3 separate regions of the Homo sapiens genome follow, and all the other regions are linked to region 1. Evidence: promoter capture Hi-C in human tissues and cell types (Jung and others, 2019). All regions are on one chromosome and are shown on one strand. The core of a region is centred on a gene start or on the middle of the fragment in contact, and the rest is flanking DNA. Distances in the headings are between cores, read along the strand shown.

The links. Contacts are between HindIII fragments. The study calls those that stand out against the background at their distance.
Region 2: a contact is called between a fragment that was not itself captured here and the fragment with the promoter of CDC14B in region 1, in 1 of the 25 tissues and cell types used here (dorsolateral prefrontal cortex).
Region 3: a contact is called between a fragment that was not itself captured here and the fragment with the promoter of CDC14B in region 1, in 2 of the 25 tissues and cell types used here (hippocampus and mesendoderm cells).

The regions. Positions count from the first base shown.
Region 1 is chr9:96,617,015-96,621,638 of GRCh38, forward strand. CDC14B (cell division cycle 14B) reads right to left here and starts at 2,829. Exons shown (of 14, transcript NM_033331.4): 1 at 2,205-2,829. The coding sequence starts at 2,364. RefSeq lists an enhancer at 1,980-2,480. The HindIII fragment of the contact is 32,033 bases long and covers 1-4,624 here.
Region 2 is chr9:96,195,367-96,199,990 of GRCh38, forward strand. No RefSeq gene overlaps it. Among named protein-coding and RNA genes, the nearest start is that of HSD17B3-AS1, 49 kb to the right of the region's middle. The HindIII fragment of the contact is 4,301 bases long and covers 308-4,608 here.
Region 3 is chr9:96,287,601-96,292,224 of GRCh38, forward strand. The region is part of intron 2 of HSD17B3 (hydroxysteroid 17-beta dehydrogenase 3); the gene reads right to left. The region is part of intron 17 of SLC35D2-HSD17B3 (SLC35D2-HSD17B3 readthrough); the gene reads right to left. Among named protein-coding and RNA genes, the nearest start is that of HSD17B3, 12 kb to the right of the region's middle. RefSeq lists an enhancer at 1,677-2,227. The HindIII fragment of the contact is 4,737 bases long and covers 1-4,449 here.

The DNA.
Region 1 (4,624 bases), core at 1,579-4,078:
TCACAGGGAAAGGTGACTATAACCTTTACTCCCCTGGAGCTCCCTTACATTAAAGCTGGACCCTTCCGTTATTAGGGCTTGCAATCTGATAGGATTTTTTTTTTTTTTTAGCAGCAGCAAGATTTATTGTGAAGAGCAAAAGAACAAAGCTTCCGCAGCGTGGAAGGGGACCAGAGCGGGTTGCCCTCTGATAGCATTTTTATTTCCTGTAACGCACCCCTCCTCAGTATTCTGCTTGGTTCTATTTTTCTGAAGTTGATTAATTGGTGACTGCCTCACGAAGACTAGCCACATATTTCATCTCCATCAAGAAGAAAGATTTATTCCAATGACTTTGCTGTCACAAACCTTCTGATTGAAAACCCAAATGTTCATCAACAGGGACTGTCTAAATAGGTTAAAAAACATTCAAATCTACATAAACATTTAAATCCATACGTACTTGTTAATGGTTTTATTCATAAAACCGTATGTACATTGGCCTAAGCAGTAATTAAAATCAAGTAAGCCAGTCTTATATGCACCAACTCAGAACAATCATTCTAATAAGAAACACTATGAAAACGGAAAAATGTGCAAAACAACATGTGTGCTACTCGCACGTGTATGGTAGAGAATATATAGTATATATAGTATGCATGCACAGCCTATTTCTAGAAGGCTTCACAAGAAACTGGGAAGAGTAGTTGCCTCTAGAGAAGGACACTTGGAGACTGTGAGACCAACTTTTCTGCACGTACTCCTGTGCACCTTTAGAATTGGAGTTCTGTACCATGTAAATGCATTACTTGTCCTAAAATTAAATCCCATTCAACACAGATCCTTTCAAGAGGTATAAACAATAACGGGCAGAAACTATGTATAGGCCCACCCGTTCCCAGCCCCATCCGTCCTCGGCGAGGCCCTCTCCTGGGAAGGGCACAACGTTAGCGGGACTTGGCTTCTCAGTCTCAGCAGGCTTCACCTCCCGCACACCCCCCGCAGCTACCGGCCGGGGACTGGTACTCAGGGCAACCCCTTCCTATGCCCGCTCTGGTTCCCAAGGGCCATCCACCAAAGCCGAGAAACCCGCTCTGCTCTCAGCTTCATTTCAAAACGAACTTAGTTTCCAGATTGTCCATGAACCTAGAATATTATTTCTCCTAAACGTCTGTGTTTGTCTAAACACTTCCACTTAATGTTCTCGCCACTCCAGCTTACCTGGTTTATCAAAGGCTAGGGGCTGGAAACAGTTTTTAATAACGCCACGCACCGAGGTTGACACATTCCCCGCCACTGAAAACAGACTGCCAATTCCCTCAAAATCGTGGACAGCTCTGCTGTTTACACAGCGTTGCCACATACATCATCACATTTAATGCCTTCACACGCGTCACTGTCAATCCCAGCAAACCTAACAGCTGCCAAATTGGATTTATGAGTCTCCAAGAACAGTCGAATCAGCACTAACAGAACAGCTATCGAAGGGCTGCTTGGCTACCTGCTCTGGCTGGCTGGGATTTCTCAAAAGTGACAACCCGGACATTCGTCTTGCCGGCTGGCTCGAATGCCACCAACGTGACACCTTCCTTCTCGAGGCCCCGGCGGGGAGCGGACCCCGGGAGGCGGAGGCGTTCGGGGGGCGCGCTAGGGGGCAGGGCGCGGGAGGCCCAGGAGAGGGGCTCGGGCTTACGCGCCGGACGGGCAACGCGGCGCCCAGGGTCCCAAGGCTACGGAGCAGCGGGGGTTTGGCCAACGCCAAAAAGGGGCAGCTCCCGTGCCAGGCGCGTTCAGCGCGCTCGGGGAATCCTCAGGGGCTGATTCAGAGGTTGTGACTCGCGCGAGGGCCAACCGGGCTCGCAATCCCTGAAGGCGGAATCCACAGGAACTCAGAAGCAGCCCGCGGGGAGGAGCTGCAGGTTCGAGGCGCCGGGCTGACGCCCGCAACTTAGAAAGGTGACCCTCGGTCCATCTTGCTGGTGGAGGAGGGTGCACAAGCTAAAGTTAAAGCTCGCAGCCCACGCAGCTAGAAACTCGGGGCGGGGGGCGCTCCTCAGGAGCCAGGCTCCTAAAGGGGGTGTGGCGGCCGGGGCGTTTAAGGGGGTGGGGGCGAAGGCATTTCGGCCCGGCCCCGGAGGCCCCGGGCAGCCCGGTGGGAGGTGGGCCAGGGCCCCGCGCCGGGTGCGGCCGTCCGGGGCCCTCCGCGCGCCCACTGGCCGGCTCACCGGTGATGTCCAGGTACACGTCGTCCTGGGGGTCCCGGCGGCGCGGGTCTTGCTGCGTGGAGCTGCGGATCTTCTTCACACCCGGCGAGGTCGACGAGCAGCGCCGCGAGCAGGGGGGCGCGGCGGCCCAGCTCGACCGCCGCTCGCTTTTCCGCTTCATGGAGGCGGCCGCGGCCCGTCAGGGGGCCACGACCATGGCCCCGCGCGCCCGCGCGCCCGCCGAGGCTCCCGCCAGCCCCGCGCGGGCGCTCGGGGCGGCGGGCGCAGAGCGGCGCTGCGGGGACGGCGGGCGCCGGCAGAGCCCGGCGGGAGGCGGTCGCGCAGGAGCCGGAGGAGGAGCCCGGCCCACAGCGCCTGCCCCGCTGCCTCCCGCGGCCGCCGCAGGACCGGCGCCGCAGCCCTCGCTACAGCGCCTCCTGCCGCGGCCGGCGCCCCCAGCCCGCCCCCAGGTGCCCGCAGCCGGCTGGCGCGGCCGAGGCGACGGGGCTGCAGCTGGCGGCCGGAGCTGCCCGGGGTAACCGTGCGTGCCCACCGCGGCCGCGGCCGCTGCTGCGTAGGCGCCGGGGCACAGCAGGACGCGGCTCGTGGGGACCCCAGGAGGGCTGTTCCGTGGCGCTTCATTCACAAAAAAGGGCCCACAACCCTCCTCGGGGCCCGCAGACTGAGGCCTTTCATTGGCCAATGCGGCGTGACGTCACGGAGACGGGGCCTTTCTACAGGCAGGTACTCGGTGACGCCATAAAGAAAACTCTGAGGGCTTCCGCCAATCAGAGATAAAGTGTGCTAGCGACCTTCGCCAGCCCCCCAACTTTTGTTTCTTCTGTGTCCTCCAGGTGCCAGCACCCCAGATCCCAACTTTCTTTAGTGAGTCACCAAACATTTACACAGCCCCACCCTAGTAACTTAACTCCAGGTCTTTGGCATATATATATCTTAAAGTATTTCTTGAATTTCCTTGTAATTCGCGCCAAGAGAAAGGGACTTTTGCCATGGCTGCCAGCTTGGAAGAGGATGGCCTGATTACATTACCTGCAGCTATATAGATTTAAAGTAGAGTTGATTTCAGAACTTAAGTAAAACTATTTAAACAACTACGCTCTATTTATCGACCTATGCCCAGCATTCAAACAGGCCAAGCAAGGGCTTCTTAAGGACCCGATGAAACTTCCGTGGAACCACAATATACCGTGGTTGTTTGCACCTCAGAGTTTCTCATCTCGGAATCCAGCGCCCACATTAATTCAGTAAGTTTATACACTCATTGCTGTGTATACTGAGGTGTCGACAGGTCCGATTATATCATGAAGTATTGAAGCAAGGGGCAAGTTTTGTCCTTAAACTTCTTTATCTGGCACACTGTAGGGTCATATCCTCTTCTTTTTCTACTGGATTAAAATAATGCCCTATCTTCCTGGAACTTAACCAAAAACTGTCATTTTGGAGGGCCTTTAAACAAACGTCCATGGTAGCATCTAAAAGGGTGAGAAGATTGGAGGGCAGTGTTAAGATTTCACGGCCCCAAATTTTACAACATCTGCAAGCTGTCCCTATTTTTCACCAGCACTTGAACGTTTTATCCTGCAGTTCCGCAGTTAACTGCCAGCCTGGGGAAAAGAAAGATGAATTTGAGTCAGTCCCCTTGGAAGCCTCTCAGAAATGCAAATTTTCATAGAGCACCTCAGGAAGGGGCTCTTTGACTTCTATTGTTGTGGGCTTTTACCTTAAGCACGGCTAAATAAGGAAGTAGGGGGGCTGTGTCTGAAGCTAGAGATCAGCAACTCTGTAAGCACTTTTTCTTAAGGTTGGTTCTCCTGTTCACTCTTCCTCTGTTTCCCCTAAGGAAATCAGTGAAGGCCTTAAATTTAAAATGATCTACATGTCTGTCTGTAGGGGCAGCAAAGAAGCTAGAGACGTGGGAGGCTGTGCGGCGCTGCGCAAGTAAGTTTTAGAGAGCAGAAACGGTAGGGTCACAGTCCTTTGTTTTGACCTGGAGGAGGAGGAGGAGACCTTTCAGACCGGCCTAGGGGCTCAGCATTGGAAAGCCACCCAGTTTCCCAGACTACCAGGGATTTTAAATGAGTGGGTCTTGTTTTGAATAGATATTACAGGAGAGTGGTCCGTGTGGCTCCCTGGAAGTACAGAGAAACTACCTCCATGACATTATGATCTTTTGAGAGTAATTTGTTTAAATGTCAGGAGGCAGAGGTTGCAGTGAGCCGAGATCGTGCCATTGCACTCCAGCCTGGGTGACAGAGCTAGACTCCGTCTCAGAAAAAAAAAAAAAAAAGTGTCATAAATACAGATAATTATACCATTTAAATATTTTCATACTTTGCAAGTATATAATTTTATGCTTTGTATAGTAGGAACAGACAAAGTATAGGACTACACTTTGTAATTACGCGAAAGTATCTTCCCTT
Region 2 (4,624 bases), core at 1,208-3,707, 420 kb before region 1:
CTCTTCTCTGTTTTTGGAACGTGATGCTCTCCTGGTTTTACTCTAACCCCCAGCCATCCTTCCAGACCCATTTTGTTGGCTTCTCCTTCCTCTACCAGACCTCTAAGCCTTGGGAAGCTTGAGGACTCACTCATGCTCCAACCTAGTGATATCATCCAGTTTTATGATTCTACATTCCACTTACACCCTAATGCCTCTTAAATTTTTTTCTCTATCACCACTTCTCTCCTGAACTCCAGACTTATCTAGCCTGCTGCCTATTTGACATCTCTCCTCAGATGACTTGGGAAAGAAGAAGGGAATGGAAGAAGTTTGAGGCAAGAAGCAATGTGTGAAATAGTCCGACGACTACAACAAGAGCAAGCATCATGGGATTGCTAGGCGTTGTGCCATTTGATGTTTGAAGTGAAGCCAGTCATTTCTGCTTAGCAATTTTCAATTTTCTCCAGCTGCTCAGGAATAGGAACAAAAAAGGCAGACAACTGGGTCCAATCAAGCTTGGGGTCTTCAAGTAGAGTACTTCTGTTTTGATTACTACACAGCAAACCTCCTCAAAACTTGGTGGCTCTAAAGAACAGCAATTTGATTCTATCTCAAAGGTCAGGAATTCAGGCAGGTCTCAGCTGGATGCTTCTTATGCTCCTCGTAGCATTGGCAGAGGTCACTCAATGGGACTCAGCTGGGAGACAGGCTGGTCTGGAGCATCCAAGACAGCTTTCCTCACGTGTCTGGCACCTTGAGATGGCAGGAAGGCTGGGACCACAAGGACCCCTGAGACTGTTGACTCAAGAGCCTATATAGTCTTTCTAGCATGGAAGTTTCAGGGCAATTGGATACTTACTTGATTGGCTGATTTCCCCAGAGTAAGAATCCCAGAGGGACCAGGGGACAGCTGTGGGGCCATTTCCAAGCTAGTGCTGTTACTTCTAATGCATTATTTTTATTTATTTTATTTTATTTTTTATTTTATTTTATTTTTACTTTTGTAGAGACAGGATCTTGTTATGTTGCCCAGGCTGGTCTCGAACTCCTGGCTTCAAGCAATCCTCCCACCTTGGCCTCCCAAAGTGCTGGGATTATAGGTGTGAGTCAACATGCCCAGCCCACTGCATTCTTTTAGATATAATGAAGTCATATGGCCAGTCCAGATTCAAGGGCAAGGAATCAGACTCCACTTCTCAATGGGAAATAGCAAGGTCACATTGTGGAGGAGTGGGTAGAAGGATCACCTTTGGAAAATACAGCCTGCCACATGCAGGACAGAGGACAGCCAGGAAGGGGCACAGAGGTTTTCTTGAAGGGAATGATAATACACATGACCATGACATCTAACTGGAGAATGAGTTAGGGGAAGCCTTTGACAGGCAAAGTGTAGGGTTTAGTGGGTTACAGCCTTTGATGAGATTGAGGAATCTTAGCAGCCAGGAGACTAGAACAACAGGGAGTGCTTGTCAGAGAATGGAATGCTTGAAAATGAGATTTGGATAAAATGACTTCTGTGAATGATGAGACTCAGTGTGTGACCACGGAAGTGGATGGTTGCAGTGGAGGGGAAAAAGGGTCCTTAGTGCTACAATGTCAAGGACAAATAGCCAAGGAGGTGGATGGGTGCTCTACTTGGATATTGAACTCCCTGTGATTGAGGACATGAGTGGGGGTGAAGAGGGAGGTCAGGCGCTGAAGTCTGTAACCAAGAGGAACCAAGAAGCCAGGCCCAGGAGTCACCATGAGGCTGGCCGGTGCATGGCTAGATAGCTTGGTTTTTGGCCAGGAGAGGGATAGAGACGGTCTAGAAACAGAAATCAGGGATAGGGAGGCCACTCAGCTCCACTGTCAGTCACAAGGGCCTCCACTCCAGCCAGCAGGAGGCTCAGTGCTCAGGGGTAGGCCAGGTCCCACAAATGCCACACTCAACAAGGACGTGAGGAGTGGATTGAGGGTTTGGGGAAATTGGTGTATCACAGACTGCAAGCCTCGCAGAGACTGGGGGAGGGCTGGGAAAAGAAGTCAGAGAGCTGGACGCAGTGGCTCATGCCTGTAATCCCAGCACTTTGGGAGGCCGAGGCATGAGGATTGCCTGAGTCCAGGAGTTCAAGACCAGCCTGGGCAACATGGCGAAACCCATCTCTACTAAAAATACAAAAATTAGCCTGGTGTAGTGGCGGGTGCCTGTAGTCCCAGCTGCTCAGGAGGCTGAGGTGGGAGAATCACCTGAGCCTGACAGGTCGAGCTTACAGTGAACAAAGATAGTACCACTGCCTTGCCATAGCCTGGGCAACAGAGTGAGAGTCTGTCACAAATTAAAGAAAAAAGTGGGGTGGGGGGACGCAGAGGAGCCACAAGGGGCTGGGCCAGGCCAGGAAGCCTGAGGGTGACTGCAGAGGCTGCCGTGCAAGAGCTAGACAGAAACCGGAGGCAGCCAGAATTTGCCCCGACAAATTCTGGAGCTGGAAAGAAGAGAAAATCAAACCTGCAGCCCGGAATACCTTCCTCTGAGGAAGTCTGCTTTCTCCCAAGGCCACACGGGAAGCATCGCGGTGACCGCCAGCCTCTCTCCAGAATGCAGGCAGAGCTCCTAAGGGGAACCTACTCCCTAGCCTAGTTTTCTCTTCTCCCAAAATATCTGTCCCTCTCTTCAGATGAGGAAGCCCAGGGCTTTGGGCTCCTCTGTCTTCCTCCTGCTGAGAGGCTCTGCTCAGGAGACTAGTGGGCTCGGGGCTTGCCTTTGACTTCAGAGGGAGCCGAGTGGAACGTGGCTGCTTCTATCCAGCTGTGGCCAGCTTGCTCCAAAAACAGCCAGAAGCAAACATCACACCACGGGAGGCCTGATTTCATTCCTAAGATGCTCCTTTCTTATCTGTATGAGAGATCACATCCCTTCTACTACTGTGATGTTGGCCATATTTCCTAGGAAATAATAAGCTTGGCATCATTTTGCTAAGGACACATCCATGGCCTCCCTGCCCTGGGTTACATCACAAAGTGTCCTCATCAGAACTGTCCTCATTCATTCATTCGTCCAACAATACTTAATGGGCACCTGCTACATGCCAGGCCTTGTCCTAAGTGCTGGGGAGATGCAGTGAACAAAATGGAGAAAAAAAACAAAAACAGACAAAAAACCTCCACCCTGGTGGAGCTTATACTCTAATGAAGGAAGGTGGCAAGTACTTTTAAAATAATAACAAAACAAAGTAAGGAGGACAACAGCATGTTAGCAGGTGACAAGTGCTAAGGAGAAAACAGGGCAGGGGCAGGAGAGTGGGAGTGAGTGTGTGTGCCTGGGAAGGCAAAGCCTGGAAGAACATGCTCCAGCATGACCAATCCACTCCTGTAGAGGCCTTCAGCCCCTCTCCTGGTGGCACCCTGAGAGAAGGATGAAGTTCCCATCCACACCAGCCCCTCTCACCCTCCAGACAGGAGCCGGCTGGGGCAGCAATCGCAGCTGCCCTGTTTTCTCATGAAGGAGGCACCATCTCCGGCTGCTCACCCTGCCCAAGGGTCCTGCTTCTCCCACCGCCCTGCCTTCTAACAGCCACCCCCTGAGCCACCTGTGCACATTGCTCATGAGCTCTGGGTCCAGGAAGGAGGGATAGAGGAAAGCCTTCCTCCCTAAGGCTTCCTGCCATGGCCTCCTTCTTGTGGCTGGGCCTTCCTGCAAAGCTTCCTTCTGTCACTCACACGCATTTCCTCAGGTTTACTCGGTGCCCCTCATCTTCCCATCTTCTCACTCCCAGGACAATTTCCTGTCTGTCTGTTCCTTACAGGCAGCCGTGCGCTGTTGGGTAGAGGGGTGAGCCAGTGAGGCATCCTGATGTCACCTATGTGCTGGCTCTCTTTAACATGCTGGGCAAGTCCTTTCACTTCCTTCTGTTCCACTCAGCTGGGAGGCTGGATGGCTGAGCAACACTCCCGACAGACCAGAAATAACATCATCTCCAAGCAGAACCTTCCTGGACTAATATATTTTACCAAAAAGAGAGATCTTTAATTACCAGTAAAAACATCTTGTGTCAATCACTGATGTGAAGGAGCTGCCTCATGAAAAGCTGAACTCATTCTTTAGGGAGAAGAAAAATCACCAGAAAGAAATGAGAGTGTGTCAGAGGCAGCAAGAAGAGCTCTTAGGAAGCCAAGTTGAGACAGAGAGTGCATGAGTGAAGAAGAGGCAATGTCATCATGGGCAGAAAATAAAGGGAAGACAGGAGATGCAAGTAAACATGAAACACAGAAGTTAACACAGGAGCTGAAGAGAAAAGCTGAAAGAAAATTGAGGAATAAATGTGTAACCATTCCTTTCCTTCAGCAATTGGAATACGTGACGTGCAGAGCAAACCAGGCTCAGACTAGCTGCTCCCAGCCGTGGCATTCACAGAAGAGGACTTCCTGGTTGGGCTCATCTATTCAGTAGTTCAATATCAGTCCCAAAGGAATCTGTTAAGGTAAATGATGACAACTGCAAAAGAGTGAATATAGCACGCTACCATTTGTGTTCTTCCATACGTAGACACGGACACCCATGCACACATGCACATGTGTCTGTGTGGATGCAGGTCATATCTGGTTGGAGAGCAAGGTGACTGATGGAGGCTGGTTGGAGACAGCAGTAGGAAGGTAACTGACT
Region 3 (4,624 bases), core at 831-3,330, 330 kb before region 1:
CAGGGAGGCTGAGGCAGGAGAATCACTTGAACCCGGGAGGCAGAGGTTGCAGTGAGCTGAGATCACACCACTGCACTCCAGCCTGGGCAAGAGAGCGAGACTCCGTCTCTAAATAAATAAATAAATAAATAAATAAAATTTTTTAAAAAGACAACTTTACCTTGCAACCCAGAGACTCCACTGCTAGGTAATCTACCCAAAGGAAAGAGAAAAGTGTCCACACAAAAACTCAAGTGTCAATATTCACAGCAGCATTATTCATAATAGCCAAAAAAAAAAAAAAAATGGAAACAACTCCAACAGTTGTCAACTGGAAAATGAATAAACAAAATGGAGTATATCCATACAATGGAATATTATTCTGCAGTAAAAATTAAAGAGCTATTGACACATGCTACAATATGGATGAACCTCCAAAACAATATGCTAAGTGGAAGAAAACAGTCACGGAGAACGGCATGTTGTATGGTGACCTTCATATGAAATGTCTAGAAAAGATCAGTGGCAGCCTAGGGCTAGGGATAGGAATGCAGGATTAATAGCAACCAGGTGTACCTGATCTTACTCGAGTGATGGAAATGTTCCAAAACCGGATGGTGGTGATGATAAACAACTCGGTTAATTTCCTAAAAATTACTGAAGTGTACACTTGGGTGAATTTTATGGTATATAAATTATATCTCAAAAAGCTGTTCAAGATTAAAAAACTGACCCACATGTATATGACACCATCGATCCTGAAGTTTTAAAAAGTCAATTATATTCACTCTCACAGGTGATTTTCAGCCATGACTCTGGAGAGCTGAAGGTGTTAACACCACAAAGGTATTGTCACAAGTTCCCCCCAACCTGCAATCTCCACAGTGAGGTTTCACTCCATTAAAAAGACAAGCAATTAGGCCAAGTGAGATAGCTCATTTCTGTAATCCTAGAGCCTTGGGAGGCCGAGGCAGGAGGATCACTTGAGGCCAGGAGTTCAAGACCAACCCAGGCAACACAGCAAGACACCCCCACCACCACCACCATCTCTACAAAAATTAAAATTAAAAAATTAGGCCAGGCTCGGTGGCTCATGCGTGTAATCCCAGCACTTTGGGAGGCCCAGGCCGCAGGATCACAAGGTCAGGACATCGAGACCATCCTGGCTAACATGTTGAAACCCCATCTCTACTAAAAATACAAAAAAAATTAGCCAGGCGTGGTGTGGGCGCCTGTAGTCCCAGCTACTGAGGAGGCTGAGGCAGGAGAATGGCGTGAACCCGGGAGGCGGAGCTCGCAATGAGCCGAAATTGCGCCACTGCACTCCAGCCTGGGTGACTGAGCAAGACTCCGTCTCAAAAAAAAAAAAAAAATTAAAAAATTAGCCGAGCATGGTGGCACAGCCTGTAGTCCCAGCTGCTCAGGAGGCTGAGGTGAGAGGGTCACTTGAGCCCAGGAGGTCAAGAATGCAATGAGCCGTGATCCCACCACTGCACTCCAGCCTGGATGACAGAGCAAGACCCTATCCCTAAAAAAAAACAAAAACAGAAAAAAAAAAGATAGGCAGTCACTAGATGCTGCATCAATTGTTTCTTTAAACAGTTGATTTCCTGGTGTGTGTGTGTGTGTGTGTGTGTGTGTATGTGTGTGTGTATGGAAGTGGGTAATGGGGGAGACTGCGTGTGTGGGGGCAGAAGGCCTATGGGAAACCTCTATACCATCTGCTCAATTTTTCTATGAACCTATAATTGCTCTAAAAAATAAAGTCCATTAAAAATGTTTTTTCATTTTAAAAAGAACACTAAACCAAGGACAGTCCTATTTCAAGACTGACCCCTGCCAATGACATCCCCAAGTCTTCTCTCTTGTTCTCTCCATGGAAAATTCCCTACCCCCACCTCTAGCCTCCATTTTTGAGTCTTGGAATCCATCAACAGGATGGCTAAAGAATTAAGCACCTTTGTCTCCCAATTCACTTCATCAGCCTCCTGAAGAGGAGATTGCCCAATAAATGAAAGTCCATTTGCATTTTCAGCACAAAGGATGCTCTTTGCCTGGTGGGCTTGTTTCTCTCAAGAGCCACAGGCCTTTTAGAGGTTCCATGTGAAGTGGTCTGGGCCAAGAGGGGGGCGCCCGAGAACACTTGGTTGTCTGGGCTGGCATTGTTCCCTTTGTCTGCTTGAACAGGACTCAATCTTATTTCCAGAATGTCCAGGCTGACAGGCTCCATACACAGGTTTTGCCACCCCCTTTTCAGAAAGTTAAGCTGCAAAAGCCTCCCTTTCCCAGAATTCACTGCCGGGGCCCCATCCTGATGCAGAACGGCTGCCGTGGGATGAATGGGCCTTGTTTTCCTTCTCCTGTATGTTGGGGCCTGGGTCAAGGAAGGTGCTTGTAGCTGCTAATCTACAGCGGGTAGTGGGAATGCCAGGAAAAACAGGGCTTCCTCTGTGTGGCCAAGAATAAAAGAAAGGGCTTGAATTCAGGTGCTACAGGAGTGGAAACGGTGTGAAAAATAGGGTGAGCAGTGGCTTCAGAGGTATGGAAGAGTGGGCCCACTCTCTTCCTCCCTCCACCCCAGGCCCATCCCTCTCCACAATTTTTTCCCACCTGCCTCAAGTAATGCTTGAAATTCTTTTAACAGGAAGCAAAGCCTCTCCTGCCACTCTAAATGTAAACGCAGATTCGGTTAAATGCAGTGAAGAATAAGCTTCTGGAAGGGCGGAGGAGAAGTGCTTTCCCTATTCCCACCATTAAGTCCATCAAAAAAAACCTGGACACAATACATAAAACAAAGAGAAGAAGACTCCAGATGTGAGAGGAGGTTCATTTAGGGGCCTCGGAACCTGAGGAAGGGCACTGTGGTATTTCCTGGGCTTTTTTTTTTTTTTTTTTTTTTTCCACATATCCCAGACATTGCTGGAGAAACTGGCAGTTTAGAAATGCCAACAGATGCAGTTATTAAAAAGTCTCGCTGGGCACAGTGGCTCACACCTGTAATCCCAGCACTTTCGGATGCCAAGGCAGGTGGATCACCTGAGGTCAGGAGTTTGAGACCAGCCTGGCCAACATGGTGAAACCCCATCTCTACTAAAAATACAAAAATTAGCCAGGCATGGTGGCGGGTGCCTGTAATCCCAGCTACTCGGGAGGCTGAGGCAGGAGAATCACTTGAAACCAGAAGGCAAAGTTTGCAGTAAGCCGAGATCGCGCCACTGCACTCCAGTTTGTGTGACAGAGTGAGACCGGGCAAAAGAACGAAACTCTGTCTCAAAAAAAAAAAGTCTCAACAAAAGCCTGCCCTCTCTAACTAGAGGACCAGAAAAGGGGATGTCTAGTGAGACAGAAAACATTTAGACAGCAACTGTCTACTCCAAGCAAACACCTTGGGAAAAACTATGACCCCACCCACACCCCTGCCAGTAAAGGCTGGGTGGGGAGCTGGGTCTTCCACGCTGGTGAGGCTCTGTAGCAAGGATCCTGGGACTTTCATTGCAGCTGCCACCATCCCCGCGAATGTCTGTGGAGATCTGAATTCCACCCCCACCTGGCAGTAACAAGGCACCTCTTCCCCTCTTTGTCCTCTTCCTTTGCCAGGGATGATAACAGAGGAGGCCTCATGGAGAGCCAGGACTTTCACCACTGCCCAGTGGAACGAGGCCACCTCTCCCAAGTGTCATCGGAGGCCTTGTGGAGAGCAGTAAAGAAGTGTTTCTGCCCCTCCCAGCCAGAGTGGTATCAGCAGAGGCCCAGGAAGAAGCCAGAACCCCACCCCCACCCAACAGTAAGAAGTAGGCAGCTCTCCACAAGTGGAGAATTGAGCCCCCACTCCACCTGGTAGAAACTAGTCAGTTCCCCCTCCTCTCCCTCCCACAGCAATGTCAGTATGGACCAATATAAACCAAAGATTTAAATAAGATCCAGAGTCCCATAACGTAAAACCAAAATGTTGAGGATTCAGTCAAAAGCCACCCATCATTCAAAGAACCAAGATCTTAATCTGAATGAGAAAATACTAACAACAGATGCCAACATAGAGATGACACAGACATTAGAATTATCTGACAAGGTTTGGAGCATAAAAATGCTTCAGTAGGCTGGGTGATGTGGCTCATGCCTGTAATCCCAGCACTTTGGGATGCCACAGCAAGCGGATCACTTGAGGTCAGGAGTTTGAGACCAGCCTGGCCAACGAGGTGAAACCCCGTCTCTATTAAAAATACAAAAATTAGCTGGGCGTGGTGGTGGGCACCTGTAATCCCAGCTACTTGGGAGGCTGAGGCAGGAGAATCACTTGAACCCGGGAGGCAGAGGTTGCAGTGAACCAAGATCGCACCATTGCACTCCAGCCTAGGTGACAGAGTGAGACACCATCTCAAAAAAAGAAAAAAAAAAGTTCAATAAACCATTATAAACACACAAAACAAATGGCAAAAATAGAAAAATCTCTGCAAAGAAATAGAAGATGTAAGGAAGAACCACATGAAAATACTTGAACTGAAAAATATAATCACTAAAGTTAAAACCTTGATGGATGGGCTCAGTAGCAGAAAGAGTGGGACTAAGAAAAGAATCAATGAACTTGAAGATTAAAAAAAAAGCAATTACCCAATATAAGCAACAGAGAAAAAATACACTGAAAAAA